Regions from separate parts of the Homo sapiens genome. Here regions 1, 2 and 3 are each linked to region 4. The links are contacts of gene promoters, found by promoter capture Hi-C in human tissues and cell types (Jung and others, 2019). All regions are on one chromosome and are shown on one strand. The core of a region is centred on a gene start or on the middle of the fragment in contact, and the rest is flanking DNA. Distances in the headings are between cores, read along the strand shown. Region 1 has its middle 260 kb from the start of AGTPBP1. Region 2 overlaps LOC105376121 (a long non-coding RNA gene). Region 3 has its middle 230 kb from the start of AGTPBP1. Region 4 holds the start of SLC28A3 (solute carrier family 28 member 3).

What was found. Contacts are between HindIII fragments. The study calls those that stand out against the background at their distance.
Region 1: a fragment that was not itself captured here is called in contact with the fragment with the promoter of SLC28A3 in region 4 in 1 of the 25 tissues and cell types used here (dorsolateral prefrontal cortex).
Region 2: a fragment that was not itself captured here is called in contact with the fragment with the promoter of SLC28A3 in region 4 in 1 of the 25 tissues and cell types used here (lymphoblastoid cells).
Region 3: a fragment that was not itself captured here is called in contact with the fragment with the promoter of SLC28A3 in region 4 in 1 of the 25 tissues and cell types used here (dorsolateral prefrontal cortex).

The regions. Positions count from the first base shown.
Region 1 is chr9:85,480,405-85,483,244 of GRCh38, forward strand. No RefSeq gene overlaps it. Among named protein-coding and RNA genes, the nearest start is that of AGTPBP1, 260 kb to the right of the region's middle. The HindIII fragment of the contact is 7,526 bases long and covers 1-2,840 here.
Region 2 is chr9:85,421,702-85,424,626 of GRCh38, forward strand. All of the region lies in intron 2 of LOC105376121 (a long non-coding RNA gene), which reads right to left. Among named protein-coding and RNA genes, the nearest start is that of AGTPBP1, 320 kb to the right of the region's middle. The HindIII fragment of the contact is 6,241 bases long and covers 1-2,925 here.
Region 3 is chr9:85,513,061-85,516,101 of GRCh38, forward strand. No RefSeq gene overlaps it. Among named protein-coding and RNA genes, the nearest start is that of AGTPBP1, 230 kb to the right of the region's middle. The HindIII fragment of the contact is 3,134 bases long and covers 73-3,041 here.
Region 4 is chr9:84,339,267-84,342,043 of GRCh38, forward strand. It overlaps SLC28A3 (solute carrier family 28 member 3), which reads right to left and starts at 1,492. Exons shown (of 18, transcript NM_001199633.2): 1 at 1,308-1,492. The coding sequence starts at 1,367. The HindIII fragment of the contact is 14,043 bases long and covers 1-2,777 here.

The DNA.
Region 1 (2,840 bases), core at 274-2,773, 1.1 Mb after region 4:
CCCCCTCTGCTCAGGAACCTGCCAAAGCCTCCCCCATTGCTCCCATAGTCAAAGACAAAGTCCCTACAACGCCCTGCAAGGCCCTATCCCACCTGGGCTGCCTGGCTCGCCTCATCTCCTACTTCTCTCGCCTCACTTCTCTGTGCCCCTCGTGGGCCTCCTCACTGTGCCTTGATGGGCACCGCCCTCACATCAGGGCCTCTGCACTGGCTGCCCTTTCTGTCCCAACTGCGCTTCCTCCCAATGTTCCCAAGGCTTGCTCTGTCTCCTCTGAATGTTGCTCAGATTCACCTTCATAACGAGGCTCTCTCAGACCCCCACATTAGAACTCCACCTTCACAGCCCTCCTAGTCCATATTGACTGCTTGCTCTATTTTCCTATCGCATCAATCTATATTCTAACATAACAATTGTCTTTTTTTCTTTTTCCTCCTTTCTCCCTTCCTTCCACAAATAACTGAGATCAGAAGGAAGGAAAGAATGGAATGAGGGAGAAAGGGGAAAATGGGGCAGGACAGAGATGTCAACACATTTTGGAGTAGAAAGTAGACAAAAGAATGAAGAATGAGGAGCTATGCAGTCGAAGTGCCTGCAGAATGCTGTAGTGAAAAGGACTGAGCCAGTTCACTTCATCAGCCCCCAGAAAGGCTCAGAAGTTGGTGCTTCAAGTACTTCTGAGGCATTCACTGTTTACAGAATAGTTCAATCACTCGATCACCTCCTGTTCCCAACAGTCCAGTGACAACACCACCCTGCAGCCCTTCCATGCTGCATAATACAGGAGGCTTCTCTCTGGAAATAAAATGAATGAGAGTGACCACAAGCTGAGGGACATAGGCAGAGAAAGGGGCAGGAGTGAGTGGGCTTGCTCCCTCCACCATCATCCCTTTCCCCACAGCAGCCACGGGCATGTGGACTCCTCCACCTTCCAGGGATTGGAGGCTTCTTCCTTGGAAAAACTTCCACATGGAAGGGATTCACCAAATAATCAGAAAAACAATGGATGTTTACATGATCCATGCTGAGGGAAACAATCTTAGAATAATTTCAAATTCTCAAGGATGAGAGGATTTTAAATGCTATTAAAGCTTGGGGGAGTGTGTAGTGAGTGTCACATATCTCAGACGTCTTAATAGAAAAACAGTAAACTAGACAAGGGAGCAATGCCTAAAGAATCCTGAGGGAAAATTATCTTCAACCTATATTTGAAACAAGCCAATATTTATCAAGTATGAAAGTAGAATAAGAAAATCCAAGCATACAATAACTCAAAACTTACCTCCCATGTGTCCTTTCTCAGGAAACTCTTGAAGGATAACGGGAAGTTCCTGGATTATTAATACAAATTGAGTGGCTAGGGCAACAGCGGGGCACTATGGATAGATCAAGCTAGAAAACAAATGGGAGGCTCCTTAGGAAGGGGGAGTTGGAACCGATGGGTTACCTGCTGCCCTGCGTTGTGTGGAAGTGCTACTGATAGGCACTCTACAGCAATGGTTGAGTGTTTGGGGAAGAATTTTAAACTGTTGTGTAAAAGCAAAAGTTTACACAAAACTTTTGTTTCTGTGTAAACTTTTCAAAAAATAGATGTACAAGAAAGGGGACATAACCTCAGTACACTAGTTGGCTCAGCAGTGAAAAACAGTTCAATAATCACTTAGATGCAAACGTAGAATACAAGTTCAACCTAAAACTGTTACGATTTTAGGATAGGGGAAGGATACAGGAAGGAGCAGGAACTCACCATGGCAGAGACAATGGTATGTGTTCACCAAACCCAGTTTTCTTCCTCACTGGACACACAGCTAAATGTCCAGATCCTCAGCAAATAGCTTGGCATCTTGTGGTTGAGTTCTGAACAAGGGAAAGTGGACAGAAGTGATGATGTGCCACCCCTTGGCCATAAAATCTCTCACATTTAATCTTCTGTTCGCTCTTCCTGTTCCAGAGAAAACTTGGAGGTCACGTGTTGAAGATGGTGGCATCAAAGGATGGCAAGAGGCTGAGTCTCTGAATGTGTGGAGAACAACTTTGTACCCTCCCTCAATGACCTACACTGAGAGAGAAAGAAAACTTTATTGTGATAAGCTGCCATTATGGGAAGGTTGTTCACTATAGCAGCTAGCATGACTTATCCTAATATACTCAACCACTTATAATAGGGAGACAATGAAAAATCTGAAATTGACAAATCAAGAAATAGATGTTGAAGCAAATCATTTAGAAATATGTATCCATGTGTGTGTGTATATATGTATGTATAGACACACACACACATACACACATATGAAACACGTAAAAGAGTTCAAAGTGGCGCATTGGAGAAGTGGAACCGGGAGAATAGAGTGGGATGAGGTAGTTGACTGCTTAAATGTATGAATGAATAAACTTTGGAAGGTCATCCTTACTCACACTAACGAATGTTTTTCTTTATAAGCCTAATGGCAACACTTAACTTTCAATTATATGTTGCATAATTTAAATAAAAATATAAATTATTGATTTAAAAGAGACTTATAGGCTTCTAGGAAATGCAAATATGAGCATAGATAATTACAGAACACATAATATAAATACCCAAAGTGAAGCATGATGTTGTATTATGAGTGCACCACAAAAGAAGTTCTTCAAACAGATCAAACACATTTGAGTACAATAAAAGTTGCATTGAATTTGCTTCCATTGTTCCAAGGTAGATTTTGGGTATGACGGCTCATAAAGAATAGACATCACAGGAACGTTGTCTTTCCTTCCTTTCTTCCTTGCTTTGACTTTTTTTCATTTCTTTTCTTTCTGTTTTTTTTTTCTTTTTTTTTTTTTTGAGGGATATAAGAGGAAGA
Region 2 (2,925 bases), core at 316-2,815, 1.1 Mb after region 4:
GTCAAAACTGTCTTCTTTCATATGTAGTGAGCTCTTTGACATCGGAGACAGCCAGGAAGAAGTTGGCCGGTCACTTCTTAAAGACAATAGAGTGCAACGTATCAGAGAAACGCTGGACATTCCTTCAGTCTCCAAGAGTCAATGATTTGGATCTTTGTGGTTTGTCTTCATTTCCCTCTCTTAAAACAGCATCAAGCAAAAGTCATGGGGCTCCCAACAAAGGGAAAGATGAATCACAGGGTTTGGAGACTGGGTGAAGGGAAGTTTGGTGGCAAACTCATCTTGAAGTTGGCTGGGATAAAATTTGAGATGGTTCTCCTGGGCACCAATGTGGAAGTTAAAAAAACAAATTTCCTGAGAAGAGATGCTAACAGCAACTTCATGGGGGAGGTGGTAGGTGGGTATTGGGGGTCACCTCTCAAGGACTCCCTAAACCACCTCAGATTTCAGAAGTTATGAACTGAAGGGACAGGAAAATACAGTAGCTATTGTTAATTTAAAAACTGACAAAATAAAACTAACATGTCTTCAGGTGGGGAAATCTGGAAATGGGAAGAGAAAATGTTACAGAAAGAAAAAGAAAACAGCCCTAGTGTAAAATTTTTAAAATCTTAACCCTAGGGTTTTAGAACCTAAGAGTTCTATTAATAAGGCACAAAAGTTCCTAATGTGCTCTAAATCACATCAAAATTGCTTCTACACATGTGGATTTTAAGATCATAAGGAATATTTGGAGGAAATATTAATAAATAAAATTCTCTTTTTTGCTACTGGGGTAATGTTTAGAAAATTACCCATATGAGGCAGACTGATACTAAAAATGACCTCAATTCTTCACCACTCCCCACACCCACATTCTTTATCATGTGACTTTGCTGCTCCTCCTATCAAGAGATGGAGTCTATTTCCCCACCCTGAGATCTGGGCTGGGATCTCTGGCCAATACAATGTGGCAGAATGAAGGTGTGTCAAATCCAAGTCTGACCTCAGAGATCTTGCTCATTTCTGCTCTTTTTTGGAATGCTACCTCCACTGTGTTAACAAGGCTGGGCTAGCCTGGGGAAAGAGGAGAGAGCTCAGAGACAAGAGCTCATTTGCCTCAGCCAAGGCCATCCTAGATCAACCTACAGCCAACAACCTCTAAACATGTGAGAAAAGTCAGCCAAGATCAGCCAAGCTGCCTGCCTGACCCACAGCTAGCCTCAGATGCATGAAGGAGACCATCCAGGAGCTGAAGAACCCAGAGACTTGGGCGCAATAAGAAACGCTTTTTGTTTTAAGCCAGGGTAATCAAACTTTTTCTATCAAGGGCCAAATAGTAAATATTTTAGACTTACTAAATATTTGGTATGGTCTCTGTTGCATATCTTATTTTGTTTTCCAAACGCTTTAAACATGTAAAACCATTCTCAGCTTGTGGGTCCTACAGAAACATACTGCAGGCCACAGTTTGCCACTCTCTGCTTAAGCCATTGAGCTCTGAGATACTTTGTTACACAGCAGAAGCTAACTCATAGACCACATGGTTTTTATTTGCCCTTGTATCTTGTTTTCATGCAAAGAGAAAACTATACAATGAGGGTCATTTCCTCCAGGAGGGAAGGTTGACTGCTACCAGAAACAAAGAGGTCATTGACCAATGTTGCACCTCAAAGCCGTTTTCCTGGTTCCTTTAATAAAATAATCACCTGAACGCCAGTCTTTGGGATGAAAAAATGATTTCTAAATTTCAGGGACTGATGGCCAAGATCCCGGGGGACTCCAGAGGAAGACACTAGCATATAATCCCAAAATGTTAAATGGGACCAGTCTTTCTTCAGTGGAAATGATTTCCAGAACAAACTGGGGCTGTCATCCTGCAGCAGAGACCAGCCAGGATCCAAGGACAGAGTGAGTCAGCCCCTTCCTCTACAATCATGAAGTCATAGAAACCCAGCCCTCTAAACCTCTAGCTCTCATTTTGTGGAGATATAAAGAAAAGGGGGAGGAAATAAGAAAGACTGAGCATGTATCTTAGTCATGCCTGTAGAGAATGAATAGACTATTTAAATTATTGGATTGGGCTGAGTTTATTGGACTGGACTAAATTTATTTTTTCCTTGCTACTCAGTGGGTTTGGAGACTTAAAAGGATGATAGATCACTTGTAGGAAATGATAGGACTGTTATGGCTTCAATGTTGTCCCCCAAGAATATATGCCACCCACCTTATTTGGAAATAAGGTCTTTGCAGATGTAATGGCGCTAAGATGAGTCATTAGGGTGAGCCATTAGGGTCATTATGGCTGTGTTACAAAAAGAGAAGAAGAAAATGACACCCAGGAGAAGAACGCCATGTGTCAACGGAGGCAGAGATTAGAGAAATGCGGCCATGAACCAAGGAAGGCCAAGATTGCGGGCAACCCCAGAAGCTAAGAGAAAAGCATGAGGCAGACTCTTTCCCAGTGCCTTCAAGAGAGCATGGTCCCACCGACACCTTGATTTCCAACTTTCGGCCTCCACAACTGCAACAGAACGAATATCTGTTGTTCTAGGCCACCCAGTTTGCCGGCATTTATTACAGCAGTGCTAGGAAACCAGCACAAAGTTTTTTGTTTGTTTGTTTGCTTGCTTTTTTGACACAGTGTCTCGCTCTGTCACCCAGGCTGGAGTGCAGTGGCGCGATCTCGGCTCACTGCAAGCTCCGCCTTCTGGGTTCACGCCATTCTCCTGCCTCAGCCTCCCGAGTAGCTGGGACTACAGGCACTTACCACCACGCCCAGCTAATTTTTTTGTATTTTTAGTAGAGACGGGGTTTCACCGTGTTAGCCAGGATGGTCTCCATCTCCTGACCTCGTGATCCACCCGCCTCGGCCTCCCAAAGTGTTGGGATTACAGGCGTGAGCCACCGCGCCCAGCCAAGTCTATTTCTTTAAAAGAGATTATT
Region 3 (3,041 bases), core at 390-2,889, 1.2 Mb after region 4:
ACCACACCCGGCCCAGTTGTCTTTTTTTAAAATAGGATAATAACCCCAACCTCACATGGTTAAAAGATACATATGAGGCCCTTACTATGGTGACTGGAGCATAGGATGAATGAGGGCTTTGAACAAATGAACAATGATCACACACGCAGCAAAGGAAGTCTCATTCGCTCACAGAACCCCTTGGGAATAGACCTATTTTCTCCCTTTTATCCTATCTCACTCAATTTACCCCCATGTATCTTCATATAAATTTCTTCCCCTTTCTATTCCATTGTCAAGGTAATAAAGAATAAGAAGGCATACTTGTAAATTGAACTTAGATTTACTTATTTTGAAATACAAAAATTGGCAGGACAATCCTATATTCCTGCTTTCTTTCTTACCTCAAACCAAAATCAGCCTTCATCTACAGAGCCAAATTTATATATGCCCCATAAACATATCTGTGTGCACCTGGTTTGCATAAGGAGGCAATGAAATAAAAATGTTTAAATACTGGGACTCAGTAGCTAACCACCAGGTTCAAGCCTTTGCTTTGCCATAAACACTGTGTAAGCTTCAGAGGCATGTGACCTGCATAGGTCTCAGTTTTCCCATCTGCAACAATAAGGGATTTGGACTCGATTCTCTTATGTCTGGCTGTATTATGGGATATATGATATGAGAAAAGGGTTGAGACAGAAGGATCTAAAGGATCTTTTTAGTTGGAGTCAATTCGCCATTGGGGAGTCAAAGCTGGCAGGCTCCCAGACATCAGAAACCAATTTTTAATCTGATTTATTTGTATGTCAGTTCTCCTCCTTACTGCTCTACCCACTAACCATGTATAATTCCCTACAAATTCACTCTCAGTCATCCTTCCAAAGAAAAGAAAGTTTTAAATAATCTGAAAAAAAGTCGCTGATTATCTGAACTAATTCATCCGTGGGCATCAGGTTTCTTTGCAACATACTCCAAGAATTGGGACTCTAAGGGGTAGTCATCTGTCTGCCATGGAGCCAATCTTACATGTGGCTAATGAATACATGTATGTGCATTTGGTTTCCATAAGGAAGTAGCAAAATAAATATTATTCCCACGGCATCCTAAAAGTCATTTATGGAAACTTCCAGAAACCACTGGAGTAGGCAGGGTTAGGCCCCAGTCACCAATCAGTAGGTCCAGGCCAAGAGTACCACTTACTCTTCAGAGCAGTATCAGTCCACAGACTGCCGCCCTGCCCAGTCATCCTTCCAGCAGGTCATGGCGGCAGGAGAGCCTTGCCAGAGTGGTGAGCAGCCTCATGGCCTTCCAGGGCTTCTGCTGCCCTCCCCGCTGTATGGCTCATCCTTCCTGCTGTATGGGACAGGCTGGAACCTGAACGCCAGCCTTAGGACTCAAGGCCCCACCCCCTCTAGTCACTGTTTCCAAGACTGCAGCTGCCTCCCTGCTGAGAGGCCAAGGCTAAAACTCCATGACCCTCTCTCCTCTCGGGCCTCCCTGCAGCCCCTGCCTGCTCCCATCAGCCTCCCACACTGCTCAGCGGTGAGCTCTGAATTACGTAAATGACCTGGTCACCCTGTTTAAAAATTCCTACGGGTCACTTGAAATTCAGTCTACAGCACCATGGCATTCAAAGACTCAGCCAGAGCTTCCCAGCATCATTTCTATGCCATAGATGCCTTCCCTGCCACACACACACACACAAACACACACACATATGCATACAACACACACAGTTATAAACATACACTCATACCGCATAAACACACGCAACACACAAACACAAAACCCACACATTAACATACTAAGTCACAAACTCATACACAATCACACACCCACTCATAAATACATATGACACAAACACGCAGTCACAAACTCATACACAAACATATATTCTTACACATATGCACAAAACACACAATCACAACACACACATAAACACAGATGTGAAAGAGACATTTGGCAAATGAACTTGAACCTGAACTTGAACCCAAGAAGAGGGGTTCCAGCCATCTCACCAGCATATAGAGCCTTTGAATTAACACACAAGTTGGGAAGAAACCAAGAACTAACAATATCCCTTGAGCCTCTGGATCAAGCCACACCTGAAGCTAGACTTACCCCATGGGCATTTCATTATGTAAGCCAATAAACTCCCTTCTTTATTGTGGTTCTTTTATTGAGGTTTAGCCAAGCTGGGTTTTCATCACTTGCCAACTAAAGATCCAGACTGAATAGACACCCAGGAATCAAGCACCTGACATTCGGAAACAACCTCAATTAGTCATACTCTGCCTCCAGGGCTCAGTTGAGTTTCTTTAAAAACTAAGGCTCGGGCCAGGCGCCGTGGCTCATGCCTGTAATCCCAGTACTTTGGGAGCCTGAGGCAGGCAGATCAAGAGGTCAGGAGTTCAATACCAGCCTGGCCAACATGGTGAAACCCTGTCTGTACTAAAAATACAAAAAATTAGCCAGGCATGGTGGCATGTGCCTGTAGTCCCAGCTACTTAGGAGGCTGAGGCAAGAGAACGGCTTGAACCCAGCAGGCGGAGGTTGCAGTGAGCTGATACAGTGCCACTGCACTCCAGCCTGACGACAGAGCGAGACTCTGTCTCAAAAAAACAAAACAAAACAAAAAAACCAGAACTGGATTTCACTTTTTAAGAAAAGGCATTTAGGCCAGGTAAGATGGCTCACACCTGTAATCCCAACACTTTGGGAGGCAGAGGCGAGTGGATCACCTGAGGTCAGGAGTTCGAGACCAGCCTGGCCAACATGGTGAAACCCTGTCTCTGCTAAAAATACAAAATTAGCTGGGTGTGGTGGCAGGCACCTGTAATCCCAGCTACTTCGGAGGCTGAGGCAGGAGAATCGCTTGAACCCAGGAGGCAAAGGTTGCAGTGAGCCGAGATCACACCATTGCACTCCAGCCTGGGCAACAAGAGTGAAACTCCATCTCAAAAAAAAAAAAAGAAAAAAAAGAAAAAAAATCATTGAACTATACACTTGAAATGGATGAAGTATATGATATGTAGAATATACCTGAATAAAGCCTCTTT
Region 4 (2,777 bases), core at 242-2,741:
TGAGACTGAGTCTCCCTCTGTCAACCAGGCTGGAGTACAGAGGCACGATCTTGGCTCACTGCAGCCTCTGCCTCCCAGATTCAAGTGATTCTCCTGCCTCGGCCTCCCGAGTAGCTGGGACTACAGGCATGTACCACCATGCCCGGCTGATTTTTGTATTTTTAGTAGAGATGGGGTTTCACTATGTTGGCCAGGCTGGTCTCAAATTCCTGACCTCAAATGATCAGCCCGCCTCAGCCTCCCAAAGTGCTAGGATTACAGGCATGAGGCACCACTGCCAGCCACATGTGAGATTTTAAATATGAATAAAATTTGCGTGCCTTTTCTCCTGCTAATCTGTTTTATGTTGGTTTAATTTGCAGGCCTCAGGCACTCAACCTAAGAGGGTAGATGAAGTTGTTTCCTCTCCTACACTTGTGACCTATAAGTGGTAACCCGATGCCTACTCATGGAGATGGGCATCACTGTGACCATGGGACAGATGATCAAACTTGGGCTCTGGGAAGTTACAGGAATTTGTGGGTGCTGGAGTCTGAACTCCTGTCAAAGCCCTTTTACCTCCCTCTTTCCTTTCTTGGCTAGCACCTCAAAGTTTTGTTTTGCCCATCTAGCAGACCGTAAAGTCCAAGGGATTGTTGACACTTGCCGGTGCAGGCTTCCCATCTTCTCCAGAGCGCCCATGCTGAGTGTCAGCTAAGGAAAGGAAGCACACCTAAAAACAGCCCTGGAAATCCCCATCCCAGACCCAGTCAAAATAGCCTGGTGTTTCTGACAGGTCTCCTTCTATGTCTCTGCGGGCACCCAGCCTCGGGCTGAGCAGCATTAATCACTCAGTGAGTTTTGGTTGATGAAGTGAGACTGATTTGCGTAATCCAGCTGCTCTGGGGCAGGTACCGGGGCCATCTGACAGGGGCTCCAGGACTTGGCTTGAGTAAAAGGAACCCTGAGACACTACCCCAGCCAGGATCTAAATTCCCCCATTTTTCCCTTCTCACCAGTTCTTTGGAAAAGTGCCTGAAGATAAATAATGGACCCCTGCTGTGAGCCAGAAGGGAAAAAAGGCAAGAGAAGAAGGCTGTCTTGTTTCTAAGTGACCATAGGGATCACAACACATCGATTAAAAGAGACTTTTCAGGTTTGTCAACCCAGAAGAGCCCAAGAAGAAAAAATAATGGGCTTAAAGTGTGCCGTTAAAAATCGTATTGTCCTGATAATCTCCCTGCTTAGGTAAGAAACTTGCCAAGGGGCTAAGGAAAGGGCAGCTTTTCCACTGAAGGCCTTTAACATAAGAGGAAAGCTCTGCTCACCTGGAAGCCCACGTTGCTGTAGCCCTCAGCTCTGGGGGCTGCTGTACTCCTCAGCTCCATGCTCTTTTTGCTGCTGGCTGGCTCTGGTCTGGAGGTCCTTTGTACCTGGGAAAAAGCACCAGTCTCTGCTGATGTCAGAAAGCCACCTGCTGTTACAGGGACCTGGGCACAGCTTGCTTCAGTTTGGAAACTTCTGCAATAATCTCCTGAATGACTAGGGCTGACACCTGGTTGGGGTGGGGCAGAGAGGCGGGCGGGTTGGCGGGGTGGAGGCATCTAGTGCTGGCCCGCCCACCTTATTAATCTTTTCCTTTATCCCCATTTTTGGCATCCTATTTGCACTCCTGGGGAGAAAACTCTTGTGGTGCACAAAACAGAAAAGGACACTTTCTTTTTCTTTCTTTCTTTCTTTTTTTTTTTGAGATGGAGTCTCAAAAAAAAAAAGGCTGGAGTGCAGTGACGCAATCTCGGTTCACTGCAACCTCTGCCTCCCAGGTTCAAGCAATTCTCCTGCCTCAGCCTCTCAAGTAGCTGGGATTACAGGTGCATGCCACCACACCTGGCTGACTTTATTTTTAGTAGAGACGGGGTTTCACCATGTTGGCCAGGCTGTTCTTGAACTCCTGACCTCAAGTGATCCACCTGCCTTGGCCTCCTAAATTGCTGGGATTACAGGCATGAGCCACCGTGCCCAGCCAGAAAAGGACACGTTCTCTATAGTGCTTAGTGAAATCCTCTGTTTTCCTGTGGGTGGTGTTAAAGACTAGGAGTGGTGGTGGGGTGGAGGGTGAGTGAACACAGGATATAAGGTCATGCCGCCCTCAGTGATCACCTACTGTATACCAGGGATGGATAGATGGATAGATACATAGACAGATAGGTAGGTAGGTAAGGGTCTTGGCTCTTCTTCCGAACAACTCAAAATTCTATACTGAAGTACAGAAAAGTTAACAATTTGTTTAGTGTCATTTAGCTAATAAAGGGATAATGAGAATTCAAATTCAAGTTTGGTTAATTCCAAAACCTTTTATTACATCCCTGCTTCAGACTGGGCTGCTTTCAAAAATCCAGCTTACAGAAATGCCGATATGTGACAAGTAAATGAAAGGTGACCAGCTATTCAATTATCAAAAGTGAATAGAAGTGCTTTGTTTTCATAAAGCAATTCACTTTGCTTTATGAAAATATTAGCTGTAGAATTCTTTTAAAATAGGGATTTTCCCCCCTAGTACAATTTAAAATACTGCAAAACTGTGGACAAAAGAATGGAAAAGGCCTGGTGCGGTGGCTCACGCCTGTAATCCCAGCACTTTGGGAGCCCAAGGCGGGTGGATCACTTTAGGCCAGGAGTTCAAGACCAGCCTGGCCAACATGGCGAAACTCCATCTCTACTAAAAATACAAAAATTAGCCAGGAGTGATAACGTGCGCCTGTAGTCCCAGCTACTCGGGAGGCTGAGGCGGGAGAATC